Regions from separate parts of the Homo sapiens genome. Here region 1 is linked to region 2. Evidence: promoter capture Hi-C in 16 types of primary human blood cells and fetal thymus (Javierre and others, 2016). All regions are on one chromosome and are shown on one strand. Each heading gives the region's core, a stretch centred on a gene start or on the middle of the fragment in contact. The rest is flanking DNA. Distances are from core to core; before and after follow the strand shown.

Evidence for each region. Contacts are between HindIII fragments. The CHiCAGO score rates a contact against its expected background, and 5 or more counts as called.
Region 1: a contact is called between a fragment that was not itself captured here and the fragment with the promoter of PLAG1 in region 2, in 1 of 17 cell types (total CD4 T cells). The highest score is 7.0, in total CD4 T cells.

The regions. Positions count from the first base shown.
Region 1 is chr8:54,170,367-54,174,107 of GRCh38, forward strand. No RefSeq gene overlaps it. Among named protein-coding and RNA genes, the nearest start is that of MRPL15, 37 kb to the left of the region's middle. The HindIII fragment of the contact is 2,812 bases long and covers 3-2,814 here.
Region 2 is chr8:56,209,631-56,213,366 of GRCh38, forward strand. It overlaps PLAG1 (PLAG1 zinc finger), which reads right to left and starts at 1,643. Exons shown (of 5, transcript NM_002655.3): 1 at 1,491-1,643. CHCHD7 (coiled-coil-helix-coiled-coil-helix domain containing 7) reads left to right here and starts at 2,159. Exons shown (of 4, transcript NM_001011671.3): 1 at 2,159-2,207. RefSeq lists silencers at 1,628-2,187, 2,030-2,255 and an enhancer at 2,268-2,337. The HindIII fragment of the contact is 9,849 bases long and covers 1-3,532 here.

The DNA of each region.
Region 1 (3,741 bases), core at 159-2,658, 2.0 Mb before region 2:
CAAGCTTACAGCTACGGGAACTCCAAGGCGAGAGGCTAAGTGACAGGAGGGAGAACTGGCCGCAGCTGCTCGCCCTGCACTTCTGGGCTGCACCAAATCGCCACAGGCCTCACCCTCCTGGCTTTGTCTCCACACAGTGACAGCCCACTGACTCTTTTCATGAAGGGCGAAACACAGTAAGCGTTCCTTGAAGCACTTTTATCCCCTCTGCCTGAAGGTTTTGAGAGCAGGCTTCTGGGAGAGGGTCCCAGCTTGTGTTGGGCCTAATGACCTTGGGAATTGGAGTTCCCTTTTTTTCCACTGCACCAGCTTATGTGCTCATGGTCCTCTTCAGTCTGAGTGGATGTCCACCTGTTAGGTTACTGCTGTAAGGTGCAAAGACTGTGGATGGATGAAACACCCCAACAGGGAAATGAGAAATCTGAAAAAGTAGTCCATAAGCATACGGAGTCTGCACAACCTTACCAAGAATGAAATCATAATTGCAGAATCCAGTGTCAGCGAGAATATGTGGAACTGGGTACCCTCTTACACCATCGTTGGGACTATACTTGGCATATCCTTTTTGAGGGCAACTTTACAGTGTTTGTCAAAGTAAAAAGTCCTTATATTTTGGCCCAAAACCATGTTCTAAGCTAACAATTGTTTTCTAAGGTTGGAAGCCTGACAAAATGGCCTGCAAATGGGGAGAGTTGGCAAGTGCCCCAAACTACTGCTGCTCCCTGTGCACCTGCCGCCTGGGTCTATGCTATTCATTCTCATTTTAGTTAATTATTATTATTATTATTATTTTGAGATGGAGTCTCACTCTGTTGCCCAGGCTGGAGAGCAATGGCGCGATCTCGCTCACTGCAACCTCTGCCTCCTGGATTCAAGTGATTCTCCTGCCTCAGCCTCTCGAGTAGCTGGGATTACAGGCACGTGCCACCACACCAGGCTAATTTTTGTATTTTTATTAGAGACGGGGTTTCACCATGTTGGCCAGGCTGGTCTTGAACTCTGAACTCAAGTGATCTGCCCTGCTCGGCCTCCCAAAGTGCTGGGATTACAGGTGTGAGCCACCGTGCCTGGCCATTTTAGTTGATTCTAATTGGAAATCAGTCACAGACATTGGCAGCTCAAGAGATAACTTTTTTTTTTCTTTTTTTTCCCTCGTGATGCAACAGTATTTTCTTTTCTTTTAAAATTGAGACGGGGTCTTGCTATGTTGCCCAGGCTGGTCTTGAACTTCTGTGCTCAAGCAATCCTGCCTTAGCTTTCTGAGTAGCTGGGATTATAGGCATGTGCCACTGCACCCAGTTATTTATTCTCATTTTATAGGTAAACCCAAAGAGAGCAGAACTTTGATCCCTGTAGCCAGTGAGTTGCCAAATCCGGATTTCAAATAGTCTTAGAAATACCAAATTACACTGAAAATAAATGCATGGATAAAGGAGTGATGGTGTTTAAGGGTTAAAATATTTTCTATTACTCAAAAAGGATTGTGAAATAAAGGCTTTTCCAGTTGAGCAGAGCACCAGCCTGGGCCAGCTGAGCCACACTGCCTTCTGTGGCTTCTGATTACTCATGCAGCAGGAACTGGGAGAGGGTGTCCTGGTCTTTGTTCCCACTCCCTATTCTGACAGCTCCTCCATGGGGAGAATCTTTTCCATCTCTAAATGAACTCTTGCAGGGCGAGGACTGTGTATTGGGTGTCAAGGTCAGAAGCAGAATCCAGTGTTCCAAATCATAACACAAAGAAAACCAACAAGGCTGTTTTTAGTTCCTAAGTACACTACATGATAACTGAGATACATTTAAATCATTGGAAGTGGAGAAAATTGGGGAAAAAGTTATTTATTTATTTATTTATTTTTGATACAGTTTCGCTCTTGTTGCCCAGGTTGGAGTGCAATGGCGTGATCTCCGCTCACTGCAACCTCTGCCTCCCAGGTTCAAGTGATTCTCCCGCCTCAGCCACCCAAGTAGCTGGGATTCCAGGTGCCCACCACCATGCTTGGCTAATTTTTGTATTTTTAGTAGAGATAGGGTTACACCATGTTAACCAGGCTGGTCTCAAACTCCTGACCTCAGGTGATCCACCTGCCTCGGCCTCCCAAAGTGCTGGGATTACAGGCGTGAGCCACCGCGCATGGCCGCAAAGTTTATTTAGACAATTGCGCTGAACCATAAGGAATATCTCTGTGTGCTGTGACTTCTTTGAGCTGGTCTGAATCCTAGCTATGTGGTTATGTACATTTCATTTTCATCAACAGGACAGCCTGGCTGTCTGGCAAAACTAAAGAAAGATTATTTTGCTTATCTATTCCTCTCCCTCATAGCCCTCCCCAAATTATAAAATACTTTTGAAAGCATGTAAATGGTGTAGTAGTTGAGCTCATTTTCCTTATCTTGCAGGTATGCATAAGCCCTGCTCAATCTACAAAACAAAACGAAAATCTCAACTTTATAAAACACTAATAATTTACTACAGTATTTCTTCAAACACACACACATAACTGACATTTATTGAGTGCTTTCTGTGTGCCAGGCCTAGGTCTAAGTTCTTTATGTAAATTAACTCACCCCTCGCAGCCCTCTTCCTGGGGCTGGTAGGAATGCCTGTCTGTGGTCGGTGCTGAGATGGGGCTCAGCCCCAGTGAGCATCTTGTGATCCTCCTAGGTGATCAGATGGCCGTCAGCCCCATGGTCATCCTTGTCCATGATGCACACACTTAGTTGTCTTCTTGTTGGCATAAAAGGATGCCAGTCTCCGCTGTTTCAGACAACAACCCCAGAAGGATCATTTGGAAGGGACTGTGGCTGTGTTCTGAAAGCTTCTTGACACCCCAGGTAAGGTCAAGAAAACAGCACACCAAAACTTGCAAAAGAGGTGTCTGAGGCTTGATGAAGGTCCAGGAGAAAATGCTGCCGGTGTCCTGATGGCACAGAGCAAAGACCTTTGAGTGGAAACTCATGGACCACAATGAACAGGCCGCAGGTGGTAGAATTTGGAATGCTGGATTCTGCTTCTGACCTTGACACCTAATACACGGTTCTCGCCCTTTGATACTTGGACTCTGAATTGAAAAAGATCTAGAACTATCCTAACTGGTTTTAAAAATTATATGCTCCTTTGTGTGTGTGTGTATAAGAATGACATGATGAAAACCTGTATCTAAATAAAGTCTAATTAAGGCTTTTTTGTTTTTCTTCCTTTTTTTTTTTTTTTTTTTTTTTTTAAGATAGAGTCTTGCTCTGTTGTCCAGGCTGGAGTGCAGTGGTATGATCTCGGCTCACTGCAGCCTCAACCTCCTGGGCTCAGGTGATCTTCCTACCTCAGCCTCTTGAGTAGCTGGGATTACAGGTGTGCACTACCACACCCAGCTACTTTTTGTATTTTTAGTAGAGACGGGGGTTTCACCAAGTTGGCCAGGCTGGTCTTGAACTTCTGACTTCAAGTGATCTGCCTGCCTCGGCCTCCCAAAGTGCTAGGACTACAGGTGTGAGCCACTGTGCCCTGCCTAATTAAGGATTTTTAATGATATATAAGATAAAAATTTGAAGCGATGTGAAAGCATGTGTCATAGTTTAACTGGCAGTGTTTTTCTTCTTAGTGGCTTATAAAGTATTAGTACATCATAAAATTGACAGCACTTTAGATTTGTTGAAATATGGCATTTTAAAAGGTTAATTTTGGAGATGAGGAAACTGAGGCACAGAGAGGTTAATAAACTTGCTCAAGGTTGCACAGCTATTCAC
Region 2 (3,736 bases), core at 393-2,892:
AAAACCAGAAAACCTCAGCTTAACATTCTTTAGGAAGGATGAACAGGTGAAGCAAACATGTCAGGAAGGGGGAAACCAAGCAACTCCACATCCCTCCCCAAAAGGTACTCCAGCCTTGCACTCCAGCCTCTCTGAGCACCATCACCTCTCTATCCCTCCTCTGCAGAGCCCAGTTTAAAGAAAGGAGGGAGCCACTAACAAAACCTGAAGCATAAATGCGACGAAAATGCAATCTAAAGCCGGAAAGGTTCATTCTTCCAATCACACATATTAACTCTATTAAGAAAATGGCATCACTTTTTTTTCCACCCAAAAAAACCCCGCAAAGATCATTAAAAGAGAGTTATAAAATAGCAAATATAGTGTTTATCTTATCTGAGATCAGTCCACATTACCAATAAGTTTAGCAGTTTCTGCACTACCACCTCCCCCCTCGCTCCCCCTGCTTCTCTTGCATCGGATTTTCACGTTTTCTCATTGTCGGTTGAGTTATAAAAGGCTTTTGCCCTTCGAAAGTTTTAAAAAATAAATAAATATTAACTCCTTGGTCCCTGCAAAGTCAAAATGGACTTCAGGGGAAAGGCGGTACATACTTTTACCTTTAGCGAGAAAAGGGGGAGCATCCCGGATTTTTAGGGATTTTTTGCGATTTTTTAAAAATTTTTATTTGGTTATATGCCTGAGTTCTCCCTCCATTTTGGTTGTTTATGATACTGACAACAAGCTGTCCCTGCTCTGTGCCGATCTCCTGCTTTCATTTAGCACCCCCTCCCCCTACCCCCCCTCGCAGCCACACACCCCGGGCTCACACCTCCCTGCAGACCCCGCACCCCGACCCCGGCTTGCCCACCTGAGGAAAGGGCAAAAACAAATTCATTTCTCCAGAAAAGAAAAACCTCTTTTGAAAAAGGGGCAAAGTTACCCCAAGTCACTCAAAGTGCCCCCCAAATATTGCCGACTGCGGGTTTCCGCCAGGCCCTTTGGGAAGCGACCTTCCCCCGGGATGTTTTGGTGGAAAATGCGGAGAGTTTACTCTCAAAACTGAATTTATATTAATTTTTCCCTTATTTTTCGGGTCTCTAATGTCTTCCGCTCTCGCTGCTGCCGCTGCCGCTGTCACAATATTCACAGCACCAGAGAGGAGGAGGAGGAGGAGGAGGAGGAAAACTTTTCAAACTTTCCAGACCCTGAATAAAGGTTTTTTTTTTTTTCCCACCGACCTCACCTTCGGGTCCCCAGCCGCATCGCCCCCTGCCCTGTCAGAAGCGACTTCGGGAGTCCTCGCAGCCCCGCGTAATTATTTTATTTTATTTTTTATTATTATTTTTCTCTCTGGGGTCCTGAGCAGGGGCTGAGAGTAGCACAAACTTTTCCTCCTCCTGCCGCCGCCGCTGCTCCTCTGCCCCCTCGGCTAGTCCCATAATTTAAATAACCCTGATATTTCTCCCGCTAAACGCCTCGCCGCCGCCCCGGACCCCCGGAGAACTCACCGCGGGGCTTTAACATCCTCCCTCCGGCCCGTCCGCCGCCTCTACACCGCCCGCGGAATTTCTAATAATTTTTTTCTCATATTTCGGGCTGGACGCGGCGGGCCTGGAAATTGTTTCCTTACGCCTCTTTCCAGCAGCCATTGTAGTGTATGCGCTGCCCCTGCAGCCCAACTTGCAGCTGCCGCCGCCGCCGCCGCCGCCGCCGCCGACGTCGCGCCCACCGCTGCCTCCCCCTGCCTGTTCGGCCACCGCCCCCGCCTCCCGTCGGCCCGCCCCCAAACCCCGCCCGCCGCTGCGCCCGCCCCCCGCGCGCGCTCCGCCCGAGAGCTGGCCACTCGGAGCCGCCGCTGGCGGGAGTTGGCCCGCCCATTGGGCCGCGACGCCGCCCGTCAAGCCGAAGTGTTAAGAGACGGGCCGCGGCTGGGGGGCGCGGTGGGGCGGGGGAAGAGGGGGCGGGGTCGCGCTCACCGCCCCGCCCACTCCTCCCGCCTCGGCCCTCCTTTCGCCAGGCGGGGGCGGGGCGAGGCCCGACCGCCCCTGCGGCCCAGGGCCCCGCGCGGCTGTCAGTCTGGCGGCGGCGCGCGCCGATTGGGCGGGCTGCCGCCGGGGAGCGGGGGCAGCAAGTTGGGATGCGCGCTACTTAAGGTCCTGCTGCGTGAGCCATTGACGTGTTTGGAGCTGGAGACGGCCTGGGTGCTGGCGAAGCGGAGGCCGGAGGTGAGTGGTTCCCCCGCCCTACCTCCGAAGCGGCCGCAGAAAAGCGGGGAGAGAGGGGTGCCCTTGGGCCGTAGCGGGGCCCGAATGCACTTCTGCGGCGCGGAGGCGCTCCCGCCAGGCTTCGCCGCAGCGCGGACCTCTTCCCGTTGCTCTTCCTCCCGCCACACGGGTCTGTTCGCTCCGGGGGCGAGGAAGATGACCTCTGCCTAGTCCGGGCAACCCCAGCTCTTCTTCCACTCTCCTGTGTAGCCTCTGAAGCGCAGTTACCGGCCCCACCCCCAGTTCCCTGCGTTTTCCTCGCCCCTTGTCTCTCTCGGCATGGTCTCGGCACAGCAAGGTGTGTTCACCTGTGCGCGCCGTCCAGGATCAGATGCTGACGGGCTACACCGCGGAAGGCGGCGAGGCCTCGGGTTCGCCCTTCGTTTCTCCTTGCCCTGCGCGCCCACCTCCGGCAGGCCACCCTTGACTTCTTGCCCCCTTCCACTTTGCACCTGGCAGTGGGTTAACGGCACGGCGTGTGCAGCTTCCGGGTTTAGCAGAGCCGCGGACCCTGCCTGGGCTCCGACCACGGGGCGTGTGGGCATGAACGTGTTCAGAAACGTTTCCTTCCCCCTGCCCTTTCAAAGCTACTTAGAGAGGGGGGACGTGAACCACTGGATGGGAAATCAGGAACTGCTTTATTAAGCAGTTTGCCCTTTGGAGTGGATTTTAGAGTTATCCCCTGAATGTGCTATGGTTTTGTGGCCCCTCCTTCATATCTTTGCTTGGTTTTTCTTTCTGGTTATGCTCTGCAAGTAGTAGAGCCTTGTAACATTTATTTAGTACATTCAAAAAGTAATAGACAAGGCCCCTTTAGCGGAGCACTCGATGTTGTAATTCAGCCCCGCTCCTCACTGTAAATTGACATTTCCTCTTCAATTCCAGTTAATACACGAGGAACTCATGCAAAGGAGGGGACTTTCGGAAATCCAAACTTAGAGTGCCTTGTATTTAGAATCCGGAAGGAAAAGGAAATGAAATGTGAAGAAACTCATGCACCAAACTCGAACTGGGTATATGTGATGTTACCTAGGTATTATTTTTGAAGAATTTCTGACTGACAATAAAATATAGAGTAGGATACTTTCATGTAAGGCACGAAACTTAAATTTAATGCAAGGTTGTCTGATCCTTGTTGAGATTATTAAATCTAAGGTGTATGAAGAGTTCTGTGTTCTCACATCATAGGATAGGTGTAAAAAAGAAAGCTGTGAATTTATTTACTATCATCATCTCTCTTAGGAAGAAGGGAAGTGTGGAAAAAAATTGTCTTCAGGAGAGGAAGAAGCTTGTAGATATAATTGAACAGCATCTTGATTTCTTTTTTGCCAAGATGTTACTGTTGGCTGGTTATTTTCTTGTATTGTTCAATGAAAATCATAAAATTATTATTCAGTGATTACTTAATGGACACCAGAATAACCAAACCCTTTTCCATTCTTTTTTTTGCAAAGGCTGGTCTCCTTTGGCCTGGACGTCCTGATCTTTCC